Regions from separate parts of the Homo sapiens genome. Here region 2 is linked to region 1. The links are contacts of gene promoters, found by promoter capture Hi-C in human tissues and cell types (Jung and others, 2019). All regions are on one chromosome and are shown on one strand. Each heading gives the region's core, a stretch centred on a gene start or on the middle of the fragment in contact. The rest is flanking DNA. Distances are from core to core; before and after follow the strand shown.

Region 1 (5,813 bases), core at 2,419-4,918:
GTTAGAAAGGAGACCCTCATCTTTACTACCACAAAATGCCACTTTATTTATTTATTTATTTATTTAGAGACGGGGTCTTGCTCTGTCGCCCAGGCTGGAGTGCAGTGGTGTGATCCCAGCTCACTACAGCCTCCAACTCCTGGGCTCAAGCGATCCTCCTGCCTCAGCCTCCCAAGTATCTGGGACCACGAGTGTGTGCCATCATGCCTGGCTAATTTCTCTGATCTTGGTATGTCACCCAGGCTGGTCTTGAACTTTCGGGCTCAGGTGATCCTCTTGCCTCAGCCTCCCAGAGCGCTGGGATTACAGGTGTGAGCCACTGTGCCGCCCCACCCCCCACACCAGTTTTGTTTTTCTTGTTCTGAGGAGCTCACTGGGGGCAGGGGCAGGGGCAGGGCAGGGGGGAGCAGTCTGGGTGGGGGCCAGGATCAGAGCTGCCAGGTGAGACTGAGTTGTGGTCTGCTCTGGGGCATGGCAGACTCTCAGACCATCTCCCTCTCTGGGTCTCAGTTTCCCTTTCTGTAAACAAAAGAGTTGAATTAGAGATGACCTCTAAGATACCTTTTGGACATAACATACCAGCATCTTATGACTCAACCAACCCCATCTGTTTTGGGCTTTGAAACCAGTGCTTTGCACCTGTGGACAATTCTGCCTCCCCTGCTGCAAGGGGACACTTGGCATTGTCTAGAGGCACTTTTGTCACAACTGAGGGGAAGGAGTGCCCCCTGGGCAGGCCAGGGGTGCTGCTCAGCACCTTACAGTGCCCAGGATGGCCGCCCATGACCAAGAATGACTGGGTCCCAAATATCCATAGATCCAAGGTGGAGAAACCTTGTCTTAAAGGCAATAGTCATTTCTGTGTGCATTCCCGTGTTTGCGAAAGGATTTCAGGCCTGTGTCCGGCAGTCATTATAGAGTATTGTACACTCTGTCCTTCCATTACCTCTGTCTGTCTCTCAACAGCTTCCGAGTAGCTAGATCCACTTTTTTTGTTGTCATTTTTTTTTTGAGACAGAGTCTCGCTCTGTCGCCCAGGCTAGAGTGCAGTGGTGCGATCTCGGCTCACTGCAACCTCCACCTCTTGAGTAGCTTGGACTACAGGCGCGTGCCACCACGTCCAGCTAATTTTTGTATTTTTAGTAGAGATGGGGTTTCACTATATTGGCCAGGCTGGTCTCGAACTCCTGACCTCATGATCCACCTGCCTCCCAAAGTGCTGGGATTACAGGTGTGAGCCACCCTGCCGGGCCACTAGATCCACTTTTTAAAGCGTCTAGGGGCTGGGTGCAGTGGTGCATGCCTGGAATTCCAGCACTTTGGGCAGATCACTTGAGACCAGGGGTTCGAGACCAGCCTGGGCAACACAGCAAGACCCCATCTCTCAAAAAAAAAATACAAAAACTAACCAAGCACAATGGTGGGTGCCTGAGGTCTTAGCTATTCAGGAGGCTGAGGTGGGAGGATTGAGCCCAGAAGGTCAAGACCAGCCTGGGCAACATAGCAAGACACCATCTCTACGAAAAGCAAAAACAAAAACAAAAATTAATTAAATTTGGTGGGTGCCTGAAGTCACAGCTGTTCAGGAGGCTGAGGTGGGAGGATTGCCTGAGCCCAGGAGGTGGAGGCTGCAGTGAGGTATGATTGTGCCACCACATTCCAGCCTGAGCAACAGAGTGAGGTTCTATTTCAGAAAATAAAATAAAATAAAATAAGGCATCTGGCTGGTGCGGTGGCTCACACCTGTAATCCCCAGCACTTTGGGAGGCTGAGATAGGAGGATCGCTTGAGCCTGGAAGGTCAAGACCAGCCTGGGCAACATAGCAAGTCCCCATCTCTTAAAAAAAAAAAAATACAAAAATTAACCAAACATGGTGATGGGTGCCTGGTGCCTGAAGTCCCAGCTATTCAGGAGGCTGAAGTTGGAGGATCGCTTGAGACCAGGAGGTCGAGACTGCAGTGAGCTATGATCATGCCACTGCTTTCCAGCCTGAGCAACAGAGACCCTACTTCAAAAAATAAAATAAAAGATAAAGCATCTGGCTGGGGGCAGTGGCTCACACGTGTAATCCCAGCACTTTGCGAGGATCGCCTGAGCACAGGAGGTTAAGACCAGCCCGGGCAAGATAGCAAGACCCTGTCTCAAAAAAACCAAATACATGAAGCATCTAAGGCCCCCAACTCTCATGGCATCCAGGCTGCCTCTCTGTGGAGTAGGTTACCTGCAGCCCCCCAGCATAGATATCGGGTTTGCATCGGGGACAGGGGACTGTGGCTTAGCAAGGAAGGACCCAGAGGCAGCCTCAGCCAGATGAGGAAGTGGGGGGAGGGGACGGCTAAAACTAGACCCTCCCCCGTACAGGGTGAGCGTTTCTCACTCGATTCTCTGTCCTCAATGTCGTCATTCATGCTTGGAGGAGGGACAGTAACACGCAGCATGGAAAAAAAAAAAATCCCTCCTGGATGCTATGGGGTCGGGGGGGGGGCGGTGGCAGCAGCCAGCCAGGCCCTTCCCGCGAGGGTAAGTTCTCCTCGGCAGTAGAAACGCATTTGCTCTCCGGAGGAAGGGGTCTTCGCCTCTCCCTTCCTTATACTGAGCTGGGTGTGACCTCAGCCCCCAGGAACACTCCCACCAGCCCCGCCCCCGACCCCCACCCCCTGCCAGCTGCAGCCACAGGCGTTGACTCCACAGTCTTCTAAGGATGGGGTGGGGTGGGTCCTCAGTGGGCCCCGGACACTCCTGCACTCAGATCCTGGCTTCGCATTTGGGGACGGCCAAAAGAAGACAGTGACATCAAGGAACGGGAGTGAAGCGCTCATTTGAGCCCTGATGTCTGATTATTAACAAATCACATACGAGTTCCAATAAGGAGGAGGCATCTGTGTCTTAAACCATAAACCACCCCCTTCCTCCCCACCCCACAGGACAGCCTTTATCGACACACTTAGATTTTTTTTTTTTTTTTTTCCCGAAATCGTCGGCTGGTGGCCTTCCTAGCGTTATAAATAGGAAATACATAGGGCTAGGATGGGTCTATTTCAGCGTCCCAGAGAGAAGCTGAGGTTTTCATCCGCCCGAGCTCTCAGCGTGTCCTGAAAATGGTGCACTTAGAGGGGAACGGTGCGCGCGGAAGGTAAACTGTGTTGCTGGGCGCAGCTCAGGGAACGGTTTTCCCTGGTACCGGGAACAGGGATGTGAGGGCCTTCACGGAGTCACAAGACCGTGGCTCTCTGCTCCCACCCGCCCCATCTGCTGGAAAGGGATTTAGAGGCGGCAAAGGCTGCCGGATAAACCTTCCAGGGAGACGGTTTATCCTGGGAGAAGGGGAGATGCGCGCACTCACCTCTGCAGCTGAGACAGCCTCTCCTCCTTACTGGCAAACAAAGGCGAGCCCTGCCCGGGTGCAGCTGGGCATCGCTCACGCTCCCCGGGCCTTCAGAGCCTAGGAGGAAGAGGATGCTCGCAGGGGCGGATTCTGCATCCGAGGAAGGTCACCCAGGGCGACGTGGCCAGCGCCCGCCAGCTCTTTTGTGCAGGGGTGGGTGGGGTGCAGGGTTAGCGGTGGGCTCCCCAGCGCGGGGCTGCGGCTGCGCCCCCTCTCATCGCCGCCCGCCTGCGCGCCCTGCCTCCGAGGTAGCTGCTTCTTCCCAGCTCAGGGCTGGCAGAGGCTCGGCTTCCCGAAGACGGTTAATTTATGCTGCTTTTGTGTGCAGGGAGGAGGGGGTGGGGGGTGGCGGCCTGACGGAAAAGCACAGCCCCCTGCCAGAATCCGATCCTCCCCATTGGCTGACAGACAAGCATCTCCGAAAGCCACGCCAGGGGCAGAGGCAGAAATAATTTTCTGATGGCGCATCAGAGATTTAAAAACAAAACAACGGACAAATAAATAAATAAATGGCAAGATGGCCTCATTCCTTAGAGAATGGGGGGTGGGGGAGTTGGGAAAGGTCTTCTTGGCACTTCTCCTTGCAAAGGGAGCAGGGGTGAGGGGTGGCATCCCCCAAAAAGTCTGTGCAGGCAAAGAAATGACTGTCCCCAGGTCGGATGCCATGGCTCACGCCTGTAATCCCAGCACTTTCGGAGGCCGAGGAGGGAGGATCACCTGAAGTCAGGAGTTCGATACCAGCCTGGCCAACATGGTGAAACCCCGTTTCTACTGAAAATACAAAAATTAGCCAGGCGTGGTGGCGTGCGCCTGTAATCCCAGCTACTCGGGAGGCTGAGGCAGGAGAATCGCTTGAACCTGGGAGGCGGAGGTTGCAGTGAGCCGAGATGGCGCCACTGCACTGCAGCCTGGGCGGCAGAGGGAGACTCTGTCTCAAAGAAAAAAAAAAAAAAAGAAAGAAATGACTGTCCCCAGGTCACCGTGTTGTGGGTCCATTAGATGGTCACTTACCATTGATTCAGCCTCGTGCCCTAAACAGGGCTGGGTGCAGGGGAGGCGGAAGTTTCTCAGGCACACTCACTTTGCAGGGCTGCTGTGGGAACGGCGCCCCCTGCAGTTGTGCGCTGGCGTGGCCTCGCCCTGGAGGAATTCAAGGAGACTGTGGAAGATGGTAGGGTGGAGAGTGCAGGCCGTGCAGTCGGACTGGAAGTGGGTTTGAACTCTAGCCCAGCCACTCCCCAGCTGGCAGACCAGTGGGCATGAGTGATCTCACCTGCGGGCCTCAGTTTTTCTCATCTGTGAAATGGAGCCGCTATGGCTTTTCCACATTATGAGATAATGCATAGACAGCACTAAACACAGTGCTGGGGCACAAGAAAAGCTCCCTATGTGTTTCTTTCTCTTTCTTTCTTTCTTTCTTTCTTTCTTTCTTTCTTTCTTTCTTTCTTTCTTTCTTTCTTTTTTTTTTTTTTTTAGGTGGAGTCTCGCTCTGTTGCCAGGCTGGAGTACAGTGGTGCGATCTTGGCTCACTGCAACCTCCGACTCCCAGGTTCAAGTGGTTCTCCTCCCTCAGCCTCCCAAGTAGCTGGGATTACAGGCACACACCACCACACCTGGCTAATTTTTTTTTTGTATTTTTAGTAGAGGCGGGGTTTCAACATGTTGGCCAGGCTGGTCTCGAACTCCTGACTTCAGGTGATCCGCCCACCTTGGCCTCCCAAAGTGCTGGGATTAGAGGTGCGAATCACTGTGCTCGGCCTATATGTATTTCTTGCTATTGCTGTTTTTAATGTTTATTTTATTTACTTATTTTTTTAAGAAACAGGAGTTTTCCCTGTCATCCAGGCTGGAGTGCAATGGCACAATCACAGCTCGCTGCAGTCTTGAACTCCCGGGCTCAGGTGATCCTTACACCTCTTTCTCTCCAGTGGTTGAGACTACAGGCTCCTACCACCACGCCCTGCTAATCTGTGTAATTTTTGTAGAAATAGGGTATCTCTCTATTGCCCAGGCTGGTCTTGAATTCTTGGGCTCAAGTGAGCCTCTCATCTCAGCCTCGAAAAATGTTGGGATTATAGGTGTGAGCCACCGTGCCTGACCCACAGCACTTACTATTAATTGAAATTATTTACACTTTTTTGTTGTTGTTGTTGATTCTCTGCTCCTCCTTATTAGAATATACTGGGTTTTGTTTTGTTTTGTTTTGTTTTGAGACAGAGACTTGCTCTGTTTCCCAGGCTGGAGTGCAGTGGTGTGATCTCAGCTCACCGCAACCTCCTCCTCCTCTCAGGTTCAAGCGATTCTCATGCCTCAGCCTCCCAAGCATCTGGGACTACAGGCATGCACCACCACACCCAGCTATTTTTTTTATTTTTGGTAGAAACGGGGTTTCACCATGTTGGCCAGGCTGGTCTTAAACTCCTGACC
Region 2 (5,813 bases), core at 1,593-4,092, 36 kb after region 1:
CACCTAGCTAATTTTTGTGTTTTTAGTAGAGATGGGCTTTCACCATGTTGGCCAGGCTAGTCTAGAACCCCTGGGCTTAAGCGATCCTCCTGCCTCTGCCTCCCGAGTAGTTGGGATTACAGGTGTGAGCCACCCCCCTGCCCCCGGCTCTATGAAATGATTCCTGAAGCTGCATCATAACAAGGGCAACTTTCACCTGCTGTGTGTGCCGCCCTCTCCCCTGCTCTCCCTCATATCCCTTGCTCTGGAGGAAGCTGGCCGCCATGTTGTGAGGACACTCAAGCCGTGTGAGGAAAGGCCTGCCTGGGAGGAACAAGGACTGCCACCAACAGTCAGCACCAACTTGCCAACCCTGGCAGGAAGGCATCTTGGAAGCAGATCCTGCTGCCCGCCGCTGACCTCTCATTGGCAACCTCATAAAAGACCCCAAGCCAGAAGCCCGAAGCCCGTCCCAAATTCCTGATCCACAGACACAGTGTTTAAAGCCTCGTTGTTTTGCAAGGTTAATCTATTACTTAGCAGGAGATAACTAACACATAGTATAAATGTCCACCAATCGGATAATAGGTGAATGAATCATGATGTTTTCAAAGTAAACAGTCTTTTCTGTAGAAGTATATTCTGCTTATGTAATTAAGGAAAACAGGTGAATGAATTGTGATATTTTCAAACAAGTAAACAATTATTCTTCTTTTAGAAGCACATTCCGCTTATGTAGTAAGGAAAATGGGAAAAAGGTGAATGAATCGGGACAGTTTCAAACAAGTAAACAGTCTTTTTTTAAAGATGCGTGTTCTGCTTATGTAACTAATCAGTCTTTACATTTGGGAGGCCCAGGGCAGAAGTACAGATGGAAGCCTGCCTACCATATGTCTACATATTTTAACATTACCAACCAAGCTCGCTAAAGTTAAATACAGTATGTTCTGTCCCGCTCACCATGACAAACATACCTTTCTAACAACATACACAAAAACTGTGTGGTGCTGTGGCTTTTCGAGTCGGCAAAACATCAAAGATGGCTGGATTTAATTAGCCCACCCTCCCTATCCATGGGTTCTGCCTCTGTGGATTCAACCAACTGCCGATCAAAAATATTTGGAAAAATGGGCCAGGTGCAGTGGCTCACGCCTGTAATCCCAGCACTGTGGGAGGCTGAGGCGGGTGGATCACCTAAGGTCAGGCGTTCAAGAACAGCCTGGCCAACATGGTGAAACCCCGTCTTTATTAAAAATACAAAAATTAGCCAGGCGTGGTGGCACACGCCTTTAGTCCCAGCTACTTGGGAGACTGAAGCTGGAGAATCACTTGAACCTGGGGGGCAGAGGTTGCAGTGAGCCAAGATTGTGCCATTGCACTCCAGCCTTGGCGACAGAGCAAGACTCCGTTTCAGAAAACAAAAAAGAAAAAGATTTCCATATCATTTCAGTGTATTATGGACATGACCTGAAGCAGCCATCAGGGGCTGAATCCGCGCCCTTTTCCCACACCTTCCTGTGTTGAAGTCCTAACCCTCAGTACCTCTGAATATGCCCGGATTTGGAGACAGGGTCTTGACTTATTTTTAGTTTTTTTCTTTCCTCTTCTTTTTTTGAGACAGGATCTCACTGTTTCCCAGGCTGGAGTGCAGTGGTGTGATCATGGCTCACTGCAGCCTTGACCTCCTGGGCTCCAGTGACCCTCCTTCCTCAGCCTCCTGAGTAGCTGGAACTACAGGTGCACACCACCACGCCTGGCTAATTTTTTTTTTTTTTTTTGTAAAGATGGGGTTTTGTCATGTTGCCCAGGCTGGCCTCAAACTCCTGGGCTCAAGCAGTCCTCCTGCCTCAGCCTCCCAAAGTGCTGGGATTACAAAAGTGTGACCTTGTAGGGACCATGTTGCAGTTTTACCTTTTTTTTTTTTCTTTTTTTGAAATTTTCTTCTTTAATAGAGATAGGGTAGCACTATGTTGCCCAGGCTGGCCTCAAACTCCTGGGTTCAAGCCATCTTCCTGCCTCGGCCTCCCAAAGTGCTGGGATTACAGGTGTGAGGCACCATGACTGGCCCCCCTTTATACTTCTGTAATAAAAAAAAAATTTTGTAGAGACAGGGTCTGACTATGCTGCCCAGTCTAGGGTGCAGTTGGAGAGCCAGGGTCTTTGAAGAGAGAATTAAGTTGAAATGAATTAAACTTAATCAATTTAGCCCAATGCAGAATGGGCCCTAATCCAATCCGACTGGATCCCTGTAAGAAGAGATTAGAACACAGACACGCACAGAGGGACAACCACGTGAGGACACAGGGCAAAGACTGCCGTCTGCAAGCCACAGAGGGACCGGCCCTGCTGACACCTGGATCTAGGACATCCACGCTCCAGAACTGTGAGAATAAATAAGTCTGTGTTGCTGAAGCCACCCAGCTGTGGTACTTGGCCATGACCACCTGGGGCAACCCTGCAGCCCCCTTTCCCAATCAGGGTTCTGCCTGGAAACTGCAGAGCACAGACACTAGCTGCAGAGACTGAGTCCCCCGGGAGTGGGCCACGGGGAGCTCCATTCCAGACTCCAGGGAGGGAGAGGAATTCCTTCCCACGTGGAGGCCTCAGAGTACCAGGCCTCGTTCTCTGCTGGAACCCTGACTCATCTAAAGGATTCAACCACAAGATGCCATTAAACCACAAATGTGCAAAAATTAAATATGTCTTCATTATAAATGCAATTTAAATGTAAAACATTGGGCCAGGCGCAGTGGCTCACACATGTAATCCCAGTACTTTTGGAGGCTGAGGCAGGTGGATCACTTGAGGTCAGGGGTTCAAGATCAGCCTGGCCAACATGGTGGAAACCCCGTCTCTACCAAAAATACAAAAATTAGCCAGGTATGGTGGCAGATGCCTGTAATCCCAGATACTCCGGAGGCCGAGACAGGAGAATCACTTGAACCCAGGAGGTGGAGGTTGCAGTGAGCCGAGATCGCACCACTGCACTCCAGTGTGGGTGACAGAGCAAGATTCTGTCTCAAAAAAAAAAAAGTAAAACATTGAAAAGTTAACTTCATTTGTATGTTTTTTTAAAAGTTACTTTCCTATAATATTCAGAAATTTCTATTAACATTAAAAAGCAAGATAGATGGGTGGAGAGGGGAAGTGATTGGTAGTGGATATGAGGTTTCTTTGCTTTTTATTATGATAAAGTCTAGATAACATAAAATTGACCAGTTTTACCGTTTTATTAATAAGTGCATAGTTCAGTGGCATTAAGCACATTCACGTGGTTGGGGAGCCGTCACCACCATCCATCTCCAGAACTTTCTCATCTTCCCAAACTGAAGCTCTGTCCCCGTGAAACACTCACTCCCCTTCCCCTCCCCGGTCCCTGGCACCCCCCCCCCCACATCCTACTTTCTGTCTCTGTGAATCTGACACCTCTAGGGACCTCCTAGGACTGGAACCACACAGGATTTGTCCTTCTGTGCCTGGCTTCTCTCACTGAGCCTGATGTCCTCACGGTTCATCCACCTTGTAGCCTATGTCAGGACTTGTTTTTTTTCTTTCTTTCTTTTTTGTTTTTTGAGACAGAGTCTTGCTCTGACACCCAGGCTGGAGTGCAGTGGTGTGATCTCTGCTCACTGCAAGCTCCGCCTCCCAGGTTCACGCCATTCTCCTGCCTCAGCCTCCCTAGTAGCTGGGACTACAGGCGCCCGCCACCACGCCCAGCTAATTTCTTTTTGTATTTTTAGTAGAGACAGGGTTTCACCATGTTAGCCAGGATGGTCTCGATCTCCTGACCTCGTGATCTGCCTGCCTCGGCCTCCCAAAGTGCTGGGATTACAGGCGTGAGCCACCGCGCCCGGCCAGGACTTGTTTTCTTTTTAAGGCCGAATCATATTTCACTGTGTGGATGGACCACGTTATGTTCATTCATCCAATTTTTTTGAGACAGAGTCTTGCTCTGTCTCCCAGGCTGGAGTGCAGTGGCGCGATCTCAACTCACTGCAACCTCCACCTCCTGGGTTCAAGCAATCCTCCCAGCTCAGCCTCTTGAGTAGCTGGGATTACAGGCACGCCCCACCAGGCCCAGTTATTTTTTGTATTTTTAGTAGAGACAGGGTTTCACCATGTTGGCCAGGCTGGTCCCGACCTCCTGACCTCAAGTGATCCGCCCGCCTCGGCCACCCGAAGTGCTGGGATCCCAGGCGTGAGCCACCGCGCCCAGCCCATTTATCCACTGATGGACGGTTGGGTTGCTCCTACCTTTTAGCCACTGTGAACAGTGCTGCTGTGAACATTGGTGTAAAATACCTTCTTGAGCCTCTGCTTTCTTTTCCTTTGAGTAGGAACCTAGGAGTGGAATTGCTGAGTCATGAGATAATTCTAGATTTAACTTTCGAGCAACTGCCAGACTGTTTCCACAATGGCTGCACCATTACATTTTCCCTTCTGCTGGGGTTTCATTGTGGGGTCATGAAATGTTCTGAAATGGGCCAGGCACGGTGGCTTACACCTGTAATCCCAGCACTTTGGGAGGCCAAGGCAGGTGGAGCACCTGCAGTCAGGAGTTCGAGACCAGCGTGACCAACATGGTGAAACCCCATCTCTACTAAAAATACAAAAAATTAGTTGGGCTTGGTGGCGTGCACCTGCAATCCCAGCTACTCGACAGGCTGAGGCAGGAGAATCACTTGGACCCTGGGGGCAGAGGTTGCAGTGAGCTGAGATCATGCCCCTGCACTCCAGCCAGGACCACAAGAGCAAAACTCCGTCTCAAAAAAAAAAAAAGAAAAAAGAAAAAAAAGTTCTGAAATGCATTGAAGTGACAATTGTACATCTCTGTGAATATACTGAAAACCACTACATTTTATACTTTAAATGGTTGAATTCTATAGGAAATGAATTATATCTCAATAAAGCTGTCATTTTTTCAGACAAAATGGAAAAGATAATGTAATGACTCAAGTTTTTAGATCAAAATTATATACAGCTACAGGGTTTCTTTGCTTTAAAAATTGAATTGCATGCTGTCTAACATTTTCCAAACATCAATGTGCAATTCTAATGCTCAGGGTCTCTCGTTGCTATGGTAGAGTTACTCTGGCCGGGCACAGTGACTCACGCCTGTAATTCCTGTGCTTTGGGAAGCCGAGGCGGGCAGATCACTTGAACTCATGAGTTCAAGACCAGCCTGGCCAACACAGCAAGACCCCCATCTCTACAAAAAATAAAAAAATTAGCTAGGCATGGTGGTGCACGCCTGTAGTCCCAGCTACTCAGGAGGTTGAGGTGGAAGGATCTCTTGAGCCCAGGAGTTGGAGGCTGCAGTGAGGTATGATCATGCCACTGCACTACAGCCTGGGTGACAGAGCCAGACCCTATCTCAAAAAAATAAAAAAAAAAAAGTCACTCTGCTTTACCTGTGACACATCAGACCTACAAGTTTAAGAGTATTATGGATTTTGGCCAGGTACAGTGGCTCACGCTTGTAATCCTAGCTACTTGGGAGGCTGAGGCACGAGAATTGCTTGAAACTGGGAGGTGGAGGTTGCAGTGAGCCAAGATTGTGACACTGCACTCCAGCCTGGGCGACAGAGTGAGACTCTGTCTCAATACAGTGTCCAGCTCTGTGGCCCAGGCTGGAGTACGCTGGTGCAATCATGGCTCACTGCAGCCTCAAACTCCTGGGCTCAAGCGATCCTCCCGCCTCAAGTCCTGAGTAGCTGGGACTACAGGTGCCCCACCACACCCAGCTAATTTTTTTAATTTTTTGTGGTGACAGGGTCTGGCTATGTCTCAAATTCCTGGGCTCAAGTGACCCTCCCACCTCAGCCTCCCGAGTA

Evidence for each region. The method cuts DNA at HindIII sites, captures the fragments that hold promoters and counts their contacts. A contact is called where the count stands out against the background at its distance.
Region 2: a fragment that was not itself captured here is called in contact with the fragment with the promoter of ATCAY in region 1 in 3 of the 25 tissues and cell types used here (adrenal gland, dorsolateral prefrontal cortex and mesenchymal stem cells).

Annotation. Positions count from the first base shown.
Region 1 is chr19:3,878,540-3,884,352 of GRCh38, reverse strand. It overlaps ATCAY (ATCAY kinesin light chain interacting caytaxin), which reads right to left and starts at 3,668. Exons shown (of 13, transcript NM_033064.5): 1 at 3,345-3,668. RefSeq lists an enhancer at 3,463-3,993. The HindIII fragment of the contact is 15,458 bases long and covers 1-5,813 here.
Region 2 is chr19:3,841,573-3,847,385 of GRCh38, reverse strand. The region is part of intron 1 of ZFR2 (zinc finger RNA binding protein 2); the gene reads left to right. Among named protein-coding and RNA genes, the nearest start is that of ZFR2, 25 kb to the left of the region's middle. RefSeq lists an enhancer at 3,656-4,155. The HindIII fragment of the contact is 7,455 bases long and covers 1-5,813 here.